Regions from separate parts of the Homo sapiens genome. Here region 2 is linked to region 1. The links are contacts of gene promoters, found by promoter capture Hi-C in blood cells and fetal thymus (Javierre and others, 2016). All regions are on one chromosome and are shown on one strand. The core of a region is centred on a gene start or on the middle of the fragment in contact, and the rest is flanking DNA. Distances in the headings are between cores, read along the strand shown.

The links. The method cuts DNA at HindIII sites, captures the fragments that hold promoters and counts their contacts. A CHiCAGO score of 5 or more calls a contact.
Region 2: the fragment with the promoter of NECTIN2 here is called in contact with the fragment with the promoter of CEACAM19 in region 1 in 1 of 17 cell types (neutrophils); the score reaches 7.9 in neutrophils.

The regions. Positions count from the first base shown.
Region 1 is chr19:44,669,500-44,673,195 of GRCh38, forward strand. CEACAM19 (CEA cell adhesion molecule 19) reads left to right here and starts at 1,983. Exons shown (of 8, transcript NM_001127893.3): 1 at 1,983-2,487; 2 at 3,097-3,465. The coding sequence starts at 2,433. The HindIII fragment of the contact is 14,850 bases long and covers 1-3,696 here.
Region 2 is chr19:44,844,270-44,847,965 of GRCh38, forward strand. It overlaps NECTIN2 (nectin cell adhesion molecule 2), which reads left to right and starts at 2,028. Exons shown (of 9, transcript NM_001042724.2): 1 at 2,028-2,344. The coding sequence starts at 2,257. RefSeq lists silencers at 392-791, 1,659-1,708, 1,789-1,868, 1,999-2,098. The HindIII fragment of the contact is 16,272 bases long and covers 1-3,696 here.

The DNA.
Region 1 (3,696 bases), core at 733-3,232:
CAAGCTCTGTTGATCCAACCAACAGAGCACATTTGATCTCTCCTACCTCCCAGCCTCACACACACAGGCCCCACACCCTCCTTCCTGGCTCCACTCACCCAAGATATTGCAACCTCCTCAATACACCTTGATGACTATCTCAGCCTCCACATCCTTGCATTGCTATTTATGCTGCCTGGTGCACCTCATGCTGCCTCACCCCATCATCTGCCTCATTTCTACTCTTACTCCAGGTCTCAGCTCAGATGCCCCCTCCCCCAGGAAGCCCTCCCTAGCCGTCAGGTTGAATGAGGTGTGTCTCCTTGGGCTCTCCCAGACTCCTGGGCTCCTCCATCCCAGCCCTGATCACTCTGGATCATAATTGTGTGAGAGGGGTCTGCCCCCCCAAACCCTACAGGATTGTGTGCCCTACTGTGGACAGAGGGCAGAGCAGAGGTGGTCTCAATCATCACTGTGTCACCAACATCACCCAGCACACACAACTGGGCACTGGGAATGTGTGCTGGAATGAATGGAGGATGCTTTTTAAAAACTAGGCTAAGCCAGGTATGGTGAGTCACATCTGTAATCCCAGTACTTTGGGAGGCTAAGGTGGGAGGATCACTTGAGCCCAGGAGTTCAACACCAGCCTGGGGCAACATAGTGAGATCCCATCTCTACAAAACATATAAAAATTGACCAGGGATGGTAGCACACAACTGTGGTCCCAGCTACTCAGGAGGCTGAGACGGGAGGATTGCTTGAGCCCAGGAGTTGGAGGCTGCAGTGAGCAATGATCATGCAACTATACTCCAGCCTGGGCAACAGAGCGAGACCCTGTCTTAAAAAAAAAAAAAAAGAATAACACACTTGGAATAAACATGATCCAAAAAAGTACAAAACATACACTCTGGGGCTGGGTGCAGTGGCTCATGCCTATACTCCTAGTACTTTGGGAGGCCGAGGCAGGAGGATCATCTGAGGTCAGGAGTTTGAGACCAGCCTGGCCAACATGGCAAAACCCCATCTCTACTAAAAATACAAAAATTAGCCAGGCATGGTGACGCATGCCTGTAATCCCAGCTACTCAGAAGGCTGAGGCAGAAGAATCACTTGAACCTGGGAGGCGGAGGTTGCAGTAAACTGAGATTGTGCCACTGTACTCCAGCCTGGGTGACACAGCATCTAAAAAAGAAACCAATCCAAAAACTACAAAATATTCTTGCAATTATAGGTGACATATTTAAATGGTAAGACAACCAATGTTCATGAATGGAAAGACAGAGCAAGACCCTGTCTCAAGAAAAAAAAAAAAAAAAAAAAAAAAAAAAAACAGGCTGAGCGCGGTGGCTCACACCTGTAATCCCAGCACTTTGGGAGGCCAAGGTGGGCAGATCACCTGAGGTCAGGAGTTCAAGACCAGCCTGACCAACATGGAGAAACCCTGTCTCTACTAAAACTACAAAAGTAGCCGGGCGTGGTGGCGCATGCCTGCATTTCCAGCTACTCCCTGAGGTGGGAGGATCGCTTGAACCCAGGTGGCAGAGGTTGCGGTGAACTGAGATTGCGCCATTGCACTCCAGCCTGGGCAACAAGAGCGAAACTCCATCTCAAAAGAAAAAAAAAGAAAAACACGAGGCTAAGAGCTTTTTTTTTTTTTTGAGACGAAGTCTCGCTCTGTCACCCAGGCTGGAATGCAGTGGCGCGATCTCGGCTCCCTGCAACCCCTGCCTCCCAAGTTCAAGTGATTCTCCTGCCTCAGCCTCTCCAGTTGCTGGGATTACAGGTGCCCACCACCACGCCTGACTAACTTTTGTATTTTTAGTAGAGACAGGGTTTCACCATGTTGGCCAGGCTGGTCTCAAATTCCTCACCTCGTGATCTACCCACCTTGGCCTCCCAAAATGCTGGGATTACAGGCGTGAGCCACCGCACCCAGCCTGCCTCAGAGCCTTCAAGTGAGTCAGCCACAGGTGAAATCCCACCTCTGTCTATTGGCAGACTTGCCTCTTTTCCTGGGCCTCTGTTTCCACATCTGTGCAATGGGAACAGTTATTTATGGTGGCTGCTGAATGAGGCAGTGTGTGTTTGAACAAACCCAGGGGAATTGTTCAAACAGAGGCTGTTATGACTATTGCTACAGTGACTGCTGTTGTAGTCACGCTGAGTGAGAAAAAGAGGTTGAAGAGGGTCAGGGGAGGAGTCCTGGGAAGTTCCCCAGTCACCCTGAAAAACTGGTTCAACCTCTGTCTGTGCTCCCATCCCAGGGAGTATAGGTGGAGCCTCCAGAGCCCATGGACAGGGCATGCTGGGGCTGGGCCAGCCCCAGCGGTGTCTCTAAGGCACCCCTGGGATCCCCACTGAGCTGGCCTACTTCAGACAGCCAGGGCCCACCCCTCTGGCCCCCTTAGTGTCCAGCTCGTGGCCCCTTGGCATTTCCACAAGACGCCAAGATGGAGATTCCCATGGGGACCCAGGGCTGCTTCTCAAAGAGCCTCCTGCTCTCAGGTAAGGAGGAAATAGACCCTAAAGGCCAAGGGGAGAAATGGGGACTCAGCCCAGAGATTGAAGTTTCCTCTTAGAAGTAGGGAAAGATTACCTGAGAGGATGAAATTAGAATAAGATGGGGGAGGGGCAACAGAATCACAGCCTCATTGCCATTTTATCTATGGAATTTTCTATAATGTTAGGACCATGAAGGCAGGAATTTATGTATGTTTGGTTCCCTGCTATATCTCCAGTGTCTAGAAATTGAAGGAAGTTTAGATGTATTACATATAGTTGGTATTATAGCTTATATATTACATATGCCTATAAGTATTGGTTGAATAAATGAATGAATGAATGAATTCAGAGAGTCCATGTGTTTAGAAGCAGGCCACACAGCATCTCAAGGTAGAAAAACCTCTGGATCAACAGGATGGCAAATCTGTGGTAACCATGCCTGTGTTCCCACTCCTGCACCCAGGGCAGACATCACTAATCAATCCCAGCATTGTTTCCAATGAGCAGCACTCAGAGTCCTTGCTCCCCGCTGAAGATCTGTATCTAGAGAGGAGCATGCCATGGTCCCTGGCAACACCCCTGATCTCAGCCCTTCCCTGTAACTTCCCACAGCCTCAATCCTGGTCCTCTGGATGCTCCAAGGCTCCCAGGCAGCTCTCTACATCCAGAAGATTCCAGAGCAGCCTCAAAAGAACCAGGACCTTCTCCTGTCAGTCCAGGGTGTCCCAGACACCTTCCAGGACTTCAACTGGTACCTGGGGGAGGAGACGTACGGAGGCACGAGGCTATTTACCTACATCCCTGGGATACAACGGCCTCAGAGGGATGGCAGTGCCATGGGACAGCGAGACATCGTGGGCTTCCCCAATGGTTCCATGCTGCTGCGCCGCGCCCAGCCTACAGACAGTGGCACCTACCAAGTAGCCATTACCATCAACTCTGAATGGACTATGAAGGCCAAGACTGAGGTCCAGGTAGCTGGTAAGTGTTAGGGTCTGGGGATGAGGTGAGGAAGCTAATGAGCCCTGAGCAGCTACCATGCACCAGGTGCTGTGCAAACACCATTTCATTTGGTCCTCTCATTTATTCACTTGACACATATTGAGCATCTACTGTGTACCAATCCCCAGAGATAGTCTTTAACCCTCACATGCATTAACTAATAAAATATCTATGAAATGCCCGCCTTGTGCCTGACACTGGAGAATGCAC
Region 2 (3,696 bases), core at 778-3,277, 170 kb after region 1:
CGCGCCTGTAATCCCAGCTACTCAGGAGGCTGACTCAGGAGAATCGCTTGAACCCAGGAGGCAGAGGTTGCAGTGAGCCGAGATCGCGCCACTGCCCTCCAGCCTGGGCGACAGAGCGAGACTCCGTCTCAAAGAAAAAAAAAAAAAAAGGATCATAACTAAGACTCGAATGCGGAGGGATAACAGCCTCTGCTACTTGAAACCTAGTCCTTCTGGGGAGGAAAGCCCAGGTGTGTGGCAGGTGGAAGGGAGGGCGAGCCTAGGTGGTCCTCTTGCTAGGGCAAGAAGCCCCCAAGCACCTGCCCCCAGCTGAGCAGCTCCGCGCCTCCTGGCCCTGGACGAACTTGGGCCCAGACTGGCGCTCCGTGGCACCCCCTCCCCCGGCCTCCCGCTTCGCGCCCTCATCCCGCCCCCCGGCGCGGCCTCACCAGCTCCCCCTGGGCAGCCCAAAGAATGCGAAGAGGTAGGTGGGGGTAGGGAGGAGGGCGAGCCGCTGGGAGAGACAAAGGGCCCGAGTCTGAGCGAGAGACACAAAGACGCGAGGAGGCTGGGGAGATAGGGGAAGTGGGACAAGGACGCGGGGAGTGACCAGGTCCGGAGGCCGGACTGGAGCCCAGCCCCACCCAGCCCGGCCGGGCCAGCGCAGCGCGGGGGCCGGTCTCTGCTGCCCCCTGGCGGGTGGCTGCGGTGAGAAGGCGGCGCGGAGCAGGTGTTGGGAGGGGAGGACCAGGGCGCGCAGGGAGGTAGGGAGGGAAGGAAGCAGAGAACAGAGCAGGGACAGAGAGACAGCGAGAGAGACTCGCACGCAGAGACAAGAGACGCCGAGAGGGAGACACAGAGAAAGAGACAGGGACAGAGAGACACAGATAGAGACAGAGAGAGACACACGGAGAGACAGAGACAGAGAAGCACAGAGATAGAGAGGCACAGAGATAGAGACAGAGAAACACAGAGACAGAGAGGCACACAGAGACAGAGAGGCACAGAGACAGGCCGATAGAGACAGAGATACACAGAAATAGAGACAGAGACAGAGAGGCACACAGATAGAGACAGAGAGACACAGAGACAGAGTCAAAGGATGGAAAGAGACATGGGGACCAAGTGACCCAGAAACAGTGACAGACAGGCCGGGCTTGGTGGCTCACGCCTGTAATCCCAGCATCTTGGGAGGCCGAGCCGGGAGGATCGCTTGAGGCCAGCCTCAGCAACATAGTGAGACCCCGCCGCCCCCCCGCCCCGTCTCTTTTATTGAAATAAAGAAACAGTGACTGACAAAGGAAGACCAGAAACAGAGCGACACCGAAGCATGAGGACGGAAAGACCCAGAGAGGCAGAAATACAGGGACAGAGAGGAAGACCCAAAGAGAGTGAGAGAGACACAAAGACACGTAAGAGAGACAGAGAAATCCAGAAAGAAACGAGTGCAGCGACACCTAGAGTTCGGGGCAGAGATTAGAAACGCACGAGGGTACGAGAAACAGGCTCAGGGCGATGGGCTCGACCTGCGGGGAGGTCGCACAACCGGGACGTGCTGGGGGCAGAACCGTAAAGCCCCACGTGCCTCAGGCAACTGTGATGAGAGGACCCGGGCAGGCAGGAAAGGGCAGGATTCGAACTGTGGGTGGGACAGAGGCCAGGACGGACTGAGCTAAGAGACCGAGAGAACTCCGGCTAGGGCGAGGGGCGGGGCTGGTGGAGGCGGGGCTGGTGGGGGCGGAGTCGGCCGGAAGGGCCGAAAGGGGCGTGGCAAGACCTTGGCGAGGCGGCCGGTAGGCAGGGGGCGGGGCGTGGGAACTACTCGGGAGCAGAGGGGGCGTGGCTAGACCTTAGGGGGCGTGGTTTAACGCCGGGAGCGAAGGAGACAGAATTCTTTGGCAGGGGCGACCTTAGAATCCTGGGGAGGAGCGAGAATGGAATCCCGGGGAGGAACAGGGGTGGAATCCGGGGGGCGGGGTCAGAACGCCAGGAGGGGGCGGGGCCGGAGCCAGGGTCGGCTTGACTCGGGGGAGCAGCGGGTGGATCCTGTGACGTCAGCGGGTTCGAACCGCCGGAGCTGAGCGAGAGGCCGGGGGTGCCGAGCCGGGCGGGGAGAGCTGGGCCGGGAGAGCAGAACAGGGAGGCTAGAGCGCAGCGGGAACCGGCCCGGAGCCGGAGCCGGAGCCCCACAGGCACCTACTAAACCGCCCAGCCGATCGGCCCCCACAGAGTGGCCCGCGGGCCTCCGGCCGGGCCCAGTCCCCTCCCGGGCCCTCCATGGCCCGGGCCGCTGCCCTCCTGCCGTCGAGATCGCCGCCGACGCCGCTGCTGTGGCCGCTGCTGCTGCTGCTGCTCCTGGAAACCGGTGAGACGAGCGGACGGCCCCCTGCCCTCGCGCGGACCCCCTCCAACCTTACCTTCCGAGCTGGGGAAGCCGAGCACCTTCCCCGCCCACCCCCGGCTCCCCGAGCCCCCTCTCGCGTGCCCCCTTCCTGGCTGGCCCCACAGACTCCGACCCCCTACACGTCCGATTCTCTCGAGGAGACTCTGACCCCTCCTTTCTGCATCTCTCTCACCACCACCCCCATCCTTCTTAATCCAATTGCCCATCCTACGCCTGCTTGTCTGTCCCCCTCCCCATTTCTCGGATTCCCGCGCCGAAAGGGTTAAATCCCAGGAAGGCCTGGTGCCCCCTCCCCACCCCGCGCCGAGTAGTTCACCCGGATCTGGGTCTCTGTCTCCTCTACCCCTCTCAGGAATGTGGGGAATGTTCCCCCCACCTACCGCAGTAAGGTCTCGAGGAAGAGGCGAGACCACCTCCCTCCCCTATTTTTCCTTCTTCCCGGCTTGGGCGTCTGAGGCCCGGAGAGAACTGAGGACAAGCGGACCTGATTCGGGTCCCTTGGAGGGCTAAGGATAAGAGTTCTGGCGACTTAGGGGGAAGGGCCTGAGCTCGGAGCTCCAACCCCGAACCTCAGGGAGTTGGGGGTTCTGACTCCGTGGACTCCAGAAAAATTAGGGGCCGGGGGCTCCGTCTTCAGGGTCCCTGGTAGAATGGAGGCTAGGCGCTAAGTCTAACTGGGATCTAGGTAAAACTGGGGGCGAGAGAGGATCAAACTTGTAGCTTCTGGATTTAATTGTGGGCAGGGGGCTTCGTTTTCAGGGTTCCCGGCAGAACCGGGGGACAGGAGACTCGATCTCGTGGGCTTCAGACTTAATTGTAGGCAGAGGAACGTCTTCTGAGATCCAAACAGAAGTGCGAGCAGCGGGCCCCGTCTCTTGGGCTCCAGATATGATCAAGGGTCGAAGGCTCTGTCTTGAGGCTGGAGTCTCAGTCGCCTGAGTCCCAGATAGAACGGGAGGCCCCGAGTCCCAGAGGCTGGGAGACTCCTCCCTTTCCCTATGAATGGTCGGGGGCGACGGAGACGTCGCCGGGGAAGTTTTCCTGGTTTCACTCTCGCCGAGCCAGGGAGGGGCGGGGCGGGCGCTCCTGGCTCCGGGTTCCGGACTCCCCGGTTTCGGGACCTTATCTATCCTCTGGTAGCGCCTTTGTCCTCAGAGCCATAGCAGGAGGTGGACGAGTGGAGCCGCCGCCCTTATCCCCCGTCCCTCCCATTGCTATGCCTTGGACCCCCTGGCGTCCTTCCATCCACCCCACTAGGGGAGGAGAGCGGCCCCCCTGGGGAGGGAGGGGCTGGGAGGGAACCCTTGAAAGAG